Linked DNA regions of Homo sapiens: region 1 is linked to region 2. The links are contacts of gene promoters, found by promoter capture Hi-C in blood cells and fetal thymus (Javierre and others, 2016). All regions are on one chromosome and are shown on one strand. Each heading gives the region's core, a stretch centred on a gene start or on the middle of the fragment in contact. The rest is flanking DNA. Distances are from core to core; before and after follow the strand shown. Region 1 overlaps TMEM144 (transmembrane protein 144). Region 2 holds the start of RAPGEF2 (Rap guanine nucleotide exchange factor 2).

Region 1 (5,960 bases), core at 2,856-5,355, 850 kb before region 2:
TAGTCCTTATCTGAAAATGGGGATAACCAACCAAGAGAGCTGAGAGAATATGAGTAAAGTGCTAAAAACACTACCAAGAACACAATAAATGCTCAGTTAATTTTGGGGGTGAGGGTCATATAACCTAGCCCAAACTGTCGATAGCAAAATAAAACAAGTTAGGAGCAGTGGCTCACACCTGTAATCCCAGCACTTGCGGGAGGATTGCTTGAGCCCAGGAGTTTGAGACCAGCCTAGGCAACATAGCAAAACCGCTATCTCTACAAAAACAATTTAAAAATTAGCCAGGTGTGGTGAGGAACACTTGTAGTCACAGCCACTCAGAAGGCTAAGGAGGGAGGATTCCTTGGGTTCAGGAGGTCAAGGCTGCAGCAAGCCATGATCATACCACTACACTCCAATCTGGACAGCTGAGTGAAACCCTGTCTCCTCAAAAAAGAAAAAGAAAAAAAAAGAAAGAATAAGAAAACTCACAAAATCAGAGAACTTCTCCCCTTCTAGCCAGGCATGGTGGCATCTACCTGTAGTCCAACTATGCAGGAGGATCACTTGAGCCTAGGAGTTCAAGTCTAGCCTGGGCAACATAGTAAGACCCTGTCTCCCTAACAATTTAAAGATTTTAAAATGTTTAATCTTTTTTTAAAAAATTGCTTTGGAACTTTTCCCAGTTACCTTTACTTGTAGAAAAAGTCTTCAGTTGAGGAATATATGCAAATACTCTTTTATAAGAATTTTTATTAAAGACAATGTTGATCCAAAGACCCCTCCCCAATCAAGTCATCATAGACCTGTCTTAATATGCAGTTGTAGTAGCAAATAATTCCTGGTTCTAAGGAGATTGATGTTGCTAATCTCTAACAACCATAAAGTGAATGTACTTCTACCTGATCTTTAAAATGATTATTCAATTTTAGATTTAAAACATCATTTCAATCATTGTAAATGAAATATTTTGATTTAAAATCCATTATTTGATAATACAAGTAACATTCTCAGATTTAAAAAATAATAAACTTGTTTCAAAAATATGTGGACTATGATCAGAATTTTTATTTTTTTTAAATACACAAGAACAACTTGAAACATTTATAAACCTCTAAGTTACTTTCGTGAACATTTCTCATTTATTGTAGTCAGAGTTCCTTTCTACAAAAAGTAACTCTATGCCCAAAATATGTTGTAAATCTCTCTGCATATATTTCATCTACCTCACAAAAAAAGATTTATTTATATTAAAGAATTGGTTATTATCTCATGTAAGATGCTGAAGCCTTAGAAAATTACAAATTAGTCATCATAGTTTATTAGTAATTATAGGTATGAAGAAGTACAAACCAAGTATAGATTTATATTAAAGCATTTGAAAATTATTTTGGTCATGACTACAATAATAATACTGAATTGAAAATCCTCTTAACTACATATAAGAACCCTATTCAAAGAGAATCCCTAACCAAAAAGCCTAGTATTAATTGAAAAACAGTGAGGAATGTTTTGTTTTGTTTTTGGTAAAGACATCTTTAAAAAGACACATCAGACTGAATAGAAAAGTAACTTTTAAGATTAATATACTATGACCCAATAGGGTTTAATTCAGGAATGCAAGGATCGTTCATAATACATAAATTAATTAATATCATTTACTCTACCATATCAAATATGAAAAGGACGTGATAATACTATACTAACCTCTTAATAAGCTAGAAATAAAAGGAAGCTTTAGTGGTACAGTATGTCTATCAAAACAAAATAGCAATTATATACCTGAGTTTCATGAAACATAAGAGTTCTCCATATATTGGAAGTCAAGGATTTCTCCATACTATTATACGATATTTCCTATAGATCTAGCTAGTTTGGAAACACCAGAATAAGAAATGAAATGAATAAATATAGGAAAAGAAATAAGAAAATTATAATTTGCAGATTACATTTTTAAAAAATGTACACATTGTGATTTCAATTTATTGGTGACAAAAATTAAAAATTAAAATAAAAATTTAAAAGAATCAGCTGAAAAATTTAACATCCAATAAGATCATTTAGTAAGGCTTGAGATATAAAATAAATATGAAATCAGTTGCCTTCCAATGTATCACCAACAACCAGTTAAAACGAGGAAAATAAATGCTATTAATAATAACCACAAAAATTACATAAAATCTAATTAAAGAATTAACAAGTAATGTGCCAGGTTTTTAAAATACTGTATTTTACTTTGCTACAAACATGTACTAGAGGACATAGAAGATCAGAACAAATATAGGAGACTTGTCACATTTCTGATGGAACATCTCGCTGTTATAATTAGGTAGTTCTCTCTAATTACGTTCAGTATAATTCCTGTAAAATCCCAGTGAAGCTCTTTCTAGAATTTTTAGAGTAGGTCCTAAAGTTTGGCTAATTATTTATGTAAAAATAGGCAAAAAAAAAAAAAAGCATGACAGCACATATACCATATTTCTGAAATGTGCAATTTAGATTAGCTAGGCCAGTTTTCTTATAAAATAAGGATTTCTAAACTTAAGAAAATGACTGTTTGCTCTTTTCTGTTTTAAAAAAATGACTAAGATAAGATTACAAGTATTAAAAGAAGAGAGAGGGCCAAGCTGAAAGCAAAGAATTAAAAAAAAAAAAAAAAAAAAAACCTGGGGCCAGGCATGGTGGCTTATGCCTGTAGTCCCAGCACTTTGGCAAGCCAAGGTGGCCAGATCACTTGAGCTCAGGAGTTCAAGACCAGCCAGGGTGACATGGCAAAACCCTGTCTCTACAAAAATACAAAAATTAACCTGCTGTGGTGGTGCATGCCTCTAGTCCCAGCTGTTTGGGAGGCTGAGATGGGAAGATGGCTTGAACCTGGAAAGTGGAGATTGCAGTGAGCCAAGATTGCACTCTGGCCTGGGTGACAGAGCTAGACTCTGTCTCAAAATAACTAACCACATAAATAAATAAACAAAAAATCTTATATGTCATCTACAAGCAAAATTTAACAGATGTCCAATGGTACTTATTCAATGCAGACACCTAATTGCCTCTTGACAGCTGATTTAAAGAAAAATTTTAAATACTTACATGCCAATCAGTTTAGAAAAGCATCATCAACTGAACACTAAAGCCTAAATATCATAAGAATAATTTTTAAAGTATTTTTGTAGAAACAGGACAAAAACCCCTAAACTCTAAAGAAGAAAACAAAAGCAAACCTGTTATCTGCAGGACTCATAGGTACTGTCAGTTATATATCTTAAAGCAGTCCTTGAAGACGCATATTTAAAAGTCTACAACCTACAGCTGCGAGGAATAAAGCTGAGAGCCAAGCACCTTTTGTGTGAAGGACTTTAATGATTCCATTTAGTTTTAATGCCATCAGTGCATCAGTTGGATGTTTTCATACTTCTGATACTCTTTTTTGTTTGTTTGTTTTTTGAGATGGAGTCTCGCTCTGTTGCCCACGGTGGAGTGGAGTGATGCGATCTCGGCTCACTGCAAACTCCACCTCCTGGGTTCAAGCGATTCTCCTGCCTCAGCCTCCCGAGTAGCTGGGATTACAGAAGCCCGCCACCACGCCCAGCTAATTTTTGTATTTTTAGTAGAGACGGGGTTTCACAGTGTTGGCCAGGCTTGTCTCGAACTCCTGATCTTGTGATCTGCCCGCCTCGGCCTCCCAAAGTGCTGGGATTACAGGCGTGAGCCACCGTGCCCGGCCCTGATATTCTTTTATATCTGATATCTGTTACTCATTGGGAAATTCATTTTAGATTATTAAATCTTTAAGCTAGATATAAATTATATTTTTACCAACACACTTTAGTCAGTATGTCTACAGTAATGCCAACACAGGCAGTTACTACCACAACAATGTATAGGTCAGTAAGCTACTCCCTGGTGAAGAATGAGATGATCTATTATCTTAGTAGAAATCCAAGTTAAAAAACTTTCTGCTTTGGGAAGAATGTTAGTGTGCTCTTTCCAAGAGTTAACATCCACCTTTGATGAAGGAAAACCATTGCTGTTGCCCAACTATAATTAGTCTTTTTCTCTAGGAGACTGGACAGTTTTAGCAAAATCTTAACATTGAAGGGGAAAAAAATTTTTCATTCCCTGAGAACATTATTCTTCTGTCTACATAGGTAATAAAATAGCGCTTAGCAATGTATTCACGTAATTAGATTGTAGAGTGCTTGTAACTGAAGACCCATTTTTTAATTTAAGTAATTGCATCAATTTCAAATTCACAAAATATACGTGGAAATCACCTTAGTGTATTTGTTGTTTGAACAAATGTTTATGGAATACCTATTCTGCATTAGTACCAGTATCTAGGTGAGAATTGCAGTCTTAAAAATTAAGAAAAAAAAAGGTGCTGGGAAATCCAAAGCCTACTGCCAGGTGTGTGTGTGTGTGTGTGTGTGTGTGTGTGTGTGTGTGTGTGTGTTTAAATAAGCTGTTCTGCACTTGGCAAGGTTTTCGGGTGCTTCTATTTGTAGAATTTGGGATTAAAGTGGCTTCTGTTAGTGCTAAGGATCACACTGAATCAGACAATTCAACTGGCCCCAACCTAACTTGCAAAGACCTATCTCTGGTCATCAAACAGAGGCAAATTTATCTACTCTGATTCTTTAAGTTGAAGAAAGGGAACATATATATATAATTTAGTTAGTAACATAATTATTTGATTTTGTTAATTAATACATAACATATATATATATATATATATATATATATATATATAGTTACATATTAGTTAGCATTAATCTTACGAACTAATAATACAAAAGACCTTTCCTTGGCAGTTTTCACATTCCCTCCATCCTGGACTTTGTTTCTGTTCTGTTCAGATTTATTACACAAATTTACCTCTGATCTCTGCATTCTTCCAGTAAACTAGAAACACAAGACCTTTAAGGAAGTGTGAGGGAAGTAGGCAAAATGAAACCAGACAAAAGTCCACTCTTTGAAGTGAGAATTTCACTGTGGAGCCAGGAGAGCCACGTGTTCCTACTGTCAACCCGTCTATCCTGCCCCAACCCTGTTTCCTGTGGGAGCCCAGTTAGAACTTCCCTTTCTGGGTTTCCCTCAAAGCTGACCTGGCTGCAAGGCAGCAAAGACAGAACCACCCTCTACCCTCTGACCCCTTGCATCTATGCTGGGGGAAATGAGTCTCCCTAAGCCTACACTTTGCATGGCCTGGCTGTAGGAACCCAAGTTTGGTGCATGTTCTTCACTGAGTCCTTGAGTGAGCATTAGGGGAGATACTCATGAATCAGATTAGCCCTGAGGATTAGCCTCTAACAGCCCAGGGTCCTGCTTTTATGAACCCACTCCCCCCAACAAGTCAGTCAACTCTTGCACCAAAAACACAGCATTCTATTCCCACTACCTTTCCTGAAGTTTTGCCCAAATTTGGGTAGTGTGAGGCTATTAACCTGTTGGACCTCAGTGGCCAGAATTTTCACCAGAGAGGGAGGACACCAGCCCTATTCCCTACAGATTTGAAGCTGGCAGGATACCAACTGCTGCCTAGAGTTGCTTCCTCTCCATTCCTTTTTTCTTTTTCCAGAACCCTTATGTGTCTTCTACAATGACTTACCCATGAACCATTGTTATTTTTCCTTTTAAGAAGGATCTAATAGTATTATTAAATAGTGTTATTATCTGATTGTAATCTTAGATGTATCTAAAATTAGAGAGGTGCTAGTCTTGTTTTACTTTGTAATGTTCAAACCTTCCCTTAGAATACTGGAGTCTTCCGCCTTGGATTCAGACTCTCCTGATGACCCACCCTTGGGACCCTTAGACCAGGCAGCCAGAGATTGCCATGCCCTCATTGGCAGAGCCAATGCCCTTAATCAGCAGGAAGTAGATACAGAAGACTGACTTCCTCCCACATCAAGCCTTAAGGATAAGGGATAGAAATCTTTAAGTGGGGGGGATGAGACAGGAATAATACAGGGTGGTCA
Region 2 (6,141 bases), core at 3,504-6,003:
CAGTAAGGGCTTGACGTGTTTTTAAAACAAAATGACTATGTATGTAAAATCTCCCTAATCTTGGGTATAGCTGGACTCACGGGAATTTAAAACAAATATTTTAATTCACTTTTAAAGATGACCCTAAATGCCTAACCCACACGATATATTTAGGGATCTATTAGATTTTACAGTTGGAAAGATCAAAGCTTTTTAAGTTACAAGTAGAATGGTATTAAGGCCAGAACTTGAAAAGTATTTCTGAACTTAAAACCCAGTGCTCTGTCTCTCTTCCCATCCCCCAGTGATTTTCTAGATAATATGATGGTAGTAGAAACAGAACAAAGAAACTCTCATTTTTACACTTGCCTTTATGAGGCAGCATAATAGATAGCTTACTTTGATTATGGTTTGCTGACACAGTTTGGTTTAGACTAATTGGCAGAGTGGCAGATCTTTGTCTAATTCTGTCTTCCAGGTTGTGCCTAGCACATTACTGGTGCTCAAATGTTAATAAAACAGCAATGCATGCCAAGTATCTGATGTCCTAGATGCTGAGTGGTGATATGCATTATTGACATATGTAGATAAGTAGGTTATACATAGTGTGAAAATTAGCTTTAATTGAAGTTAAATGATAGCTTAGAAGTTGACAGTGAGTTAGTCATTTTGTTGGTGGATAAGACATACTATTATGTCTTACCTGAGGTGATTGATGTAATTCAGTGTTACAGTAGAGCACACAGAGAAAAAAGACTTGGGTGTGCAACTGGAATTCCTAACTCTTGCTGTGAGATCTGGCAGAGAGGCATTCCTGTCTGGTGTAGAAGGTCCCCTCTAGCATCCCCCCTCCCCATGGGGCAAGGAGTTCCATACTCTCTGAGCACCTGGAACCCTGGTCCTGACTGCCTTGCCACTTCCAGACCTCATCTTCCAAGGCTGGCCCCTGGCCCGAGGAATCACCAAGGGGTGGCTTTTTTGAGGGGTGTGATATCACTTAGATGTGTAGGCTGGGTTGTCCTTGTCCTTTTTTTTTTTTTTTTGAGATGGAGTCTCACTCTGTCACCCAGGCTGGAGTGCAGTGGCTTGATCTCAGCTAACTGCAAGCAACCTCCACCTCCCAGGTAAAAGCAAATTTTCTGCCTCAGCCTCCTGAATAACTGGGACTATAGGCACACGCCACCACGCCAGGCTAATTCTTGTATTTTTAGTGGAGACAGGGTTTCACCATATTGGTCAGGCTGGTCTGGAACTCCTGACCTCGCGATCTGCCCACCTCGGCCTCCCAAAGTACTGGAATTAGTACAGGCATGAGCCACCGCACTAGCTGGGTTGTCCTCTTATGTGTGAGCCTTTCCATGGGATAGGATGAAGCTGAGATGGAAAGAAAAGGGGATTCCAGTTGCAGACCAGATACCAGTACTCCCTGCAGTAGTACTCAGTACTCCCCCAGTTAATTTGTAGCTTTTAGTATTTATGATAGAGTATATGGATCCCCATTTGTTAGCTGGCTCCAGAACTTTCTAAAGTTAAAGGCAGTCCGGGAACTAGGACAAGTCATGTAGCCTATTTTAGTGTCAGTTCTTCATCTGTAAATAAGATAACACTGTCCCACTAGCCTCAGAGAGTTGCAATGATGAGAATAATCTTAAATATAACTACCATTTATTGAGTATATACTGTTGTTAAACCACTATGCAAGGCACTTTGCATGTATTATCTTGGATCGTCACAAATCTTCAGGGTATGCAACTTTTTCTTTTTTTGTGACAGGGTCTTGCTCTGTTACCCAGGCTGGAGTGCCATGGTGTGATCATAGCTCACTGCAACCTTGAACTCCGGGGCTCAAGATAACCTCCCACCTCAGCCTCCTGAGTAGCTAGGACTGCAAGTGCACCCCACCATGCCCCGCTCCTTTTTTTTTTTTAAGTTTTTGTGCAGCCAGTGGTCTTGCTATGTTGACCAGGCTGGTCTTGAACTCCTGGCCTCAAGCTATCCTCCTGGTTCAGCCTCCCAAAGTGCTGGGATTACAGGTGTAAGCCACTTTGCCTGGCCAGACTATTCAATTTGTACTCTCTTTTTATAAAACAGAAAACAGGCTCAGAGAGGTTAAGTTTCCTCTCCCAGTTTTCTCCCCGCAACCAGGGACACAAGTGAGATAATGTATGTAAAAATCTCATACAAATACAAGGTAACATGAACTACTTCATGTATCCATTTAATACCTATTTGTTGGCTGCCTGTCTTGTGTTGAGGATATAGCAGTAAATAAAAGGGACAAACATCCCTGACTTAGAAGCTTACATTACAGTGGAGGGATAAAACAATAAATAAAATAAATAAGTATAGATGGTTCTCAATTTACGATGGTCAATAAATTGACTTTCGATTTTTCCACTTTATAATGGGTTTATCAGGGTATTAAATGCATTTCTGACTTACAATATTTGCGACTTACAATGGTTTCTCAGGATGTAACCCCATCCTAAGTGGGCAAGCACCTGTACAATATACAGTATGTTAGGTGGTAAGTAAAGCGACGAAGATAACCAGAGTGTATGGAGTTACAGGGAAGGTGACATTCAAATGAAGATATGATGACAATGAGGAACAACATTCTATATTTTGGTTGTTGTGTGTGTGCATTTTTCTTTTTGTTTTTTGTTTTTGTGGGTGCAAGTGGGGTGGGGAGAGGGGGAGAGATAATCCAGGCAGTAGAGGGAACAGCAGATGGAAAGGTCATGAGACTGGAATTTGCTGTTTCAGAAACAACATGGAGGCTAATGTGCTTGGGAACAGAATAGTAGAAGAGGTCAGAGAGATAAAGGTCCATAGGATATTCAGGCCATGGTAAGACTTTGGCTTTTACCTTGAGTGGTATGAGGAGCTAAGCAGAGGAATGATTTGAGAAGGAGTGAAAAGAATTCACACTTTGGCTGCTGTGTTGGAAATGAACTGTATGGCAAGCAAGGTTAGAAAGAGGGGGACCAGGTGGGTGGTTATGACAAAGTGCTGGCCAGACATGATGCTGGATTGCACCAGGGTCATGGCAGTAGAAGTGGTAGATAAAGGTTAGAGTTCAGATATGGCATTCTGGAGGTTGAGCTGACGATTTTTACTGACACTTTTGAGGTATAACAGAAAGAAAGGAGTCAAGGAAGTCAACGTTTTCACCCAGGAAGTGAGAATGGTGTAGATGTGATTAACAGAGGATGGGGAAGGCTGTGGGTGTCTGAGACAGGAGATCTGGAGCCTGGTTTGCACATGTGAATTCTGAGATGTCTATTAGACACCAGGTGGAGATGTCAGTTATATTTTTTCACTTCATTGGGTTTGAATTCTTTTATCTGCCTCTCTCCTTTTTTCAGAGCTGTATTGGCACTTATTCATGTTCCTTTGCTTTCAAGGTAGTGGCCTATGTCATAGAGAATTTGATGTTGGCGCTCAACTAAGAGGTGAAAGAGAAATATAGAGAAGCAGTTCCAGCAAGAGTAATATAAAAAGGTCTACAGATACAATTTGTAACTCAGATTCCCTTTCACAAGGTTGGGCAGGGACAGTCCCTTTGCTAGGAAGTCACACAAGCTGTTTAGTGCACACAGGTGACTTAAGGAACCCCAAAATGTTAGCTGACAATCTATTCCAAGTGTTTAAACTAGATGTTGAAAATCATGTTTGAAAAGTTCAACGCAGTAGCTCATACATAAAACTCATTGTGTCTATAGATATCAAAATAAGAACTTGTGGGGGGTGGGGGCAAACAAAAATAAATCCCTGGGACCAGAACAGCAGAGTGGTCCCCGATGCTTGGGCTGACCTTAACACACCTCTACGTGGCCGGGGCAAGGAGTGGGGGGGAGCTGAGGGAATCAGCAGGAGCGGTGACATCTTGAAGGACGAGGTATTGTTTCTGCACCATGTGGGTCCGGTTTGGAAATTTGAGCATCTAGAGGAGGAGGCTTGTTCTGTCCAAGGCAAAGCCAGACCTACCAATAAATGTTTCTGATTATGTCACAGAACTTGCCATCCTGGTCTGTCGCTAAGGAGTGATCAACTTTAAATCTGGAGTGTTTGTTGGTCTAGGGGTGGTAGTGGGTCTGGTGTTGAAACCTCTCTGCCTAATTTCGTGGTCATTTTACTGTCTGAGGTGCCAGAGTGGGCTTGGAAAGCAGGGGAGGGTGCAGCAAATTACAAATAAGCAAAATAAATCCTAAGAGGATTTATCGCCACAGAAGCAACTCGGACGCAACTCTTGGGCTCAAAAAGAATGCCCAGTACAGCCCGGGCTGGTGGGCCGGTCTTTTGCCCAAGGTTAGCTTTCAGCCCCTGGGCGGCGGCGTGGCGCCAGGAGCGGGCGGGGAGCAGCGACCCGACGCGGCTGGGTCTCCTAGTAGGGCGCGTCGGGTGTGGGGAGGGGGCGCGGCGTGAGACAGTGGGGGACACTGCGTGAGGAAAGCCCTGCGCTTCTCTCCGGGGCACCAGGACTTGCGCCCCCTCTTCGGGTCCAGGCCGCGCGCGGGACCCGACAGCCCGGCCGAGGGCTCCGCGACCCACTTGCGGCCAGAGCGCTGCTCACCTGGGCGCCGCCGAAGGTGCCGCTCAGACGCGAGGGCGCGGCCGCTGGCGGGCGGGGAGCGGGGAGGCGGGACCCGGCGCGACGGGGCTGCCCCGCCCCCCGATGATGCGGCGGCCGCCGACTCGCCCCCACGCTGTCACTCATTCCTCACCATGGTTGCAGCACAAAGCAACAAGCCCCAGAGGCCGCTTCCTCCCTGAGGAGCGGCTCCGGCGGCCGGAGAAGGCGCAGGAGGAGGAAGAGGCGGAGGAAGAGGAGGGGAATCGCCGCTTCCCAAACACTCTCTCCGAGGGGGCTGTGCGCGGCTCTCGGCTTTCGGCCCTCGGACGCCCGCGCCGGGAGTCCGAACCCGGGCTGTCCGCGGCCCCCTCTTCCCCCTCCTCCGCCCCGCGCAGACGAGGAACAAAGTTGCCGAGAGCGACTGGGCCGGAGGGCTGCAGCCCGGGCCGGGTGCTCTGGCCGCGGCGGCGCCGGCGCCGGGGCAGCTCCGCTCCGGGCGCGCTGATGGGGGGAGGCGGCGGCGGCGGAGCCCACAGCGGCGGCCCGAGCAGCAGAGGCGGCGGCGGCGGCGGCTGGGCGGCCCGAGGGGATGCAGCAGCAGTCGGGAGGGACGGCCGAGCCCAGTAGACAGAGACCAGGAGCGGCGGCCGAGGCGATCGGGCTTCGCAGCGCCCGGACCTGAGCCAGACCCACCTGGTCCGTCCTCCCGACCGGCGGCCGAGGCGCCCGAGGACTGGGGACGCGGAAGATCCAAGTGATTCTCGGAGACCCCTGGGCGGCGGCTGCGCAAGCCCCTGAGAGGAGGGGGCGACCCTCAGCGCCGTGGGGGAGGAGGCTCCGCCTGCCCACAGCCCTCCCCACTGCCACTCGTACCTCCCTAAAAATAACTCGGGCCCGCTGGGGCCAGGAGGAGCCGCCACTGTCCCCCGAGTGGAGCCGGGGAGGCGTGTCGAGCCAGGGCCGGAGGAAGCCGGCGGAGCGGCGAGGAAGAGGAGGAGGAGGAGGAAGGGGAGTTCCGCCTGCGGGCCGCATCGCACGGCAGCCTAGGGGCGCCGCGACCCTCCCGGCTGCGTCCAGCCCCTCGCGCCTGTACCGCGCTCTCGGCCGCCGGGCCCAGCCGAGCCGCCCCCCCGCGGGCCCCGCGCCGCCGCCGCCGCGGTTTGGCTGATTAGTCGCGGGCGGGCGGGCGGGCGCAGCGCGCAGGGCGGAGGCAGCAGCGGCGCTGGGCCGGGAGGAGGCCGGCCAGGGTGCGGAGCGGCCCCGGCCCGCTCCCAGAGGGGAGATGGCGTCCTACGTAGATAACAGCTTCCGCCAGGCGGTGATGAAGAATCCCCCCGAAAGGACCCCCCAGGTGAGAACGCGGCGGCCGCCTGCCCTTGGCCGGATTTCTGCCTCGCAGGCTGCGTCTTCCCCTGTCCCCCCACCTCCTTCCTGACACAGTTCGCCCCGAGCACCCCACTTCTTGCATCAGGACCCCCAACTTCCAAAGGCATCCCACCTCCGAGTCTTTTACTCCGCCTATCCTGGTTTTATTTTTCCCTCTCCTTGACATTCTGCTCCTTAACTCTTCCCTCCCCATGACTGAC

The links. The method cuts DNA at HindIII sites, captures the fragments that hold promoters and counts their contacts. A CHiCAGO score of 5 or more calls a contact.
Region 1: a fragment that was not itself captured here is called in contact with the fragment with the promoter of RAPGEF2 in region 2 in 1 of 17 cell types (megakaryocytes); the score reaches 6.0 in megakaryocytes.

The regions. Positions count from the first base shown.
Region 1 is chr4:158,245,499-158,251,458 of GRCh38, forward strand. The region is part of intron 12 of TMEM144 (transmembrane protein 144); the gene reads left to right. Among named protein-coding and RNA genes, the nearest start is that of TMEM144, 38 kb to the left of the region's middle. The HindIII fragment of the contact is 4,780 bases long and covers 1,716-5,960 here.
Region 2 is chr4:159,098,326-159,104,466 of GRCh38, forward strand. RAPGEF2 (Rap guanine nucleotide exchange factor 2) reads left to right here and starts at 4,754. Exons shown (of 30, transcript NM_001394067.2): 1 at 4,754-5,906. The coding sequence starts at 5,838. RefSeq lists an enhancer at 3,904-4,595 and silencers at 4,244-4,783, 4,914-5,133, 5,174-5,463, 5,212-5,506, 5,474-5,893. The HindIII fragment of the contact is 5,553 bases long and covers 2,277-6,141 here.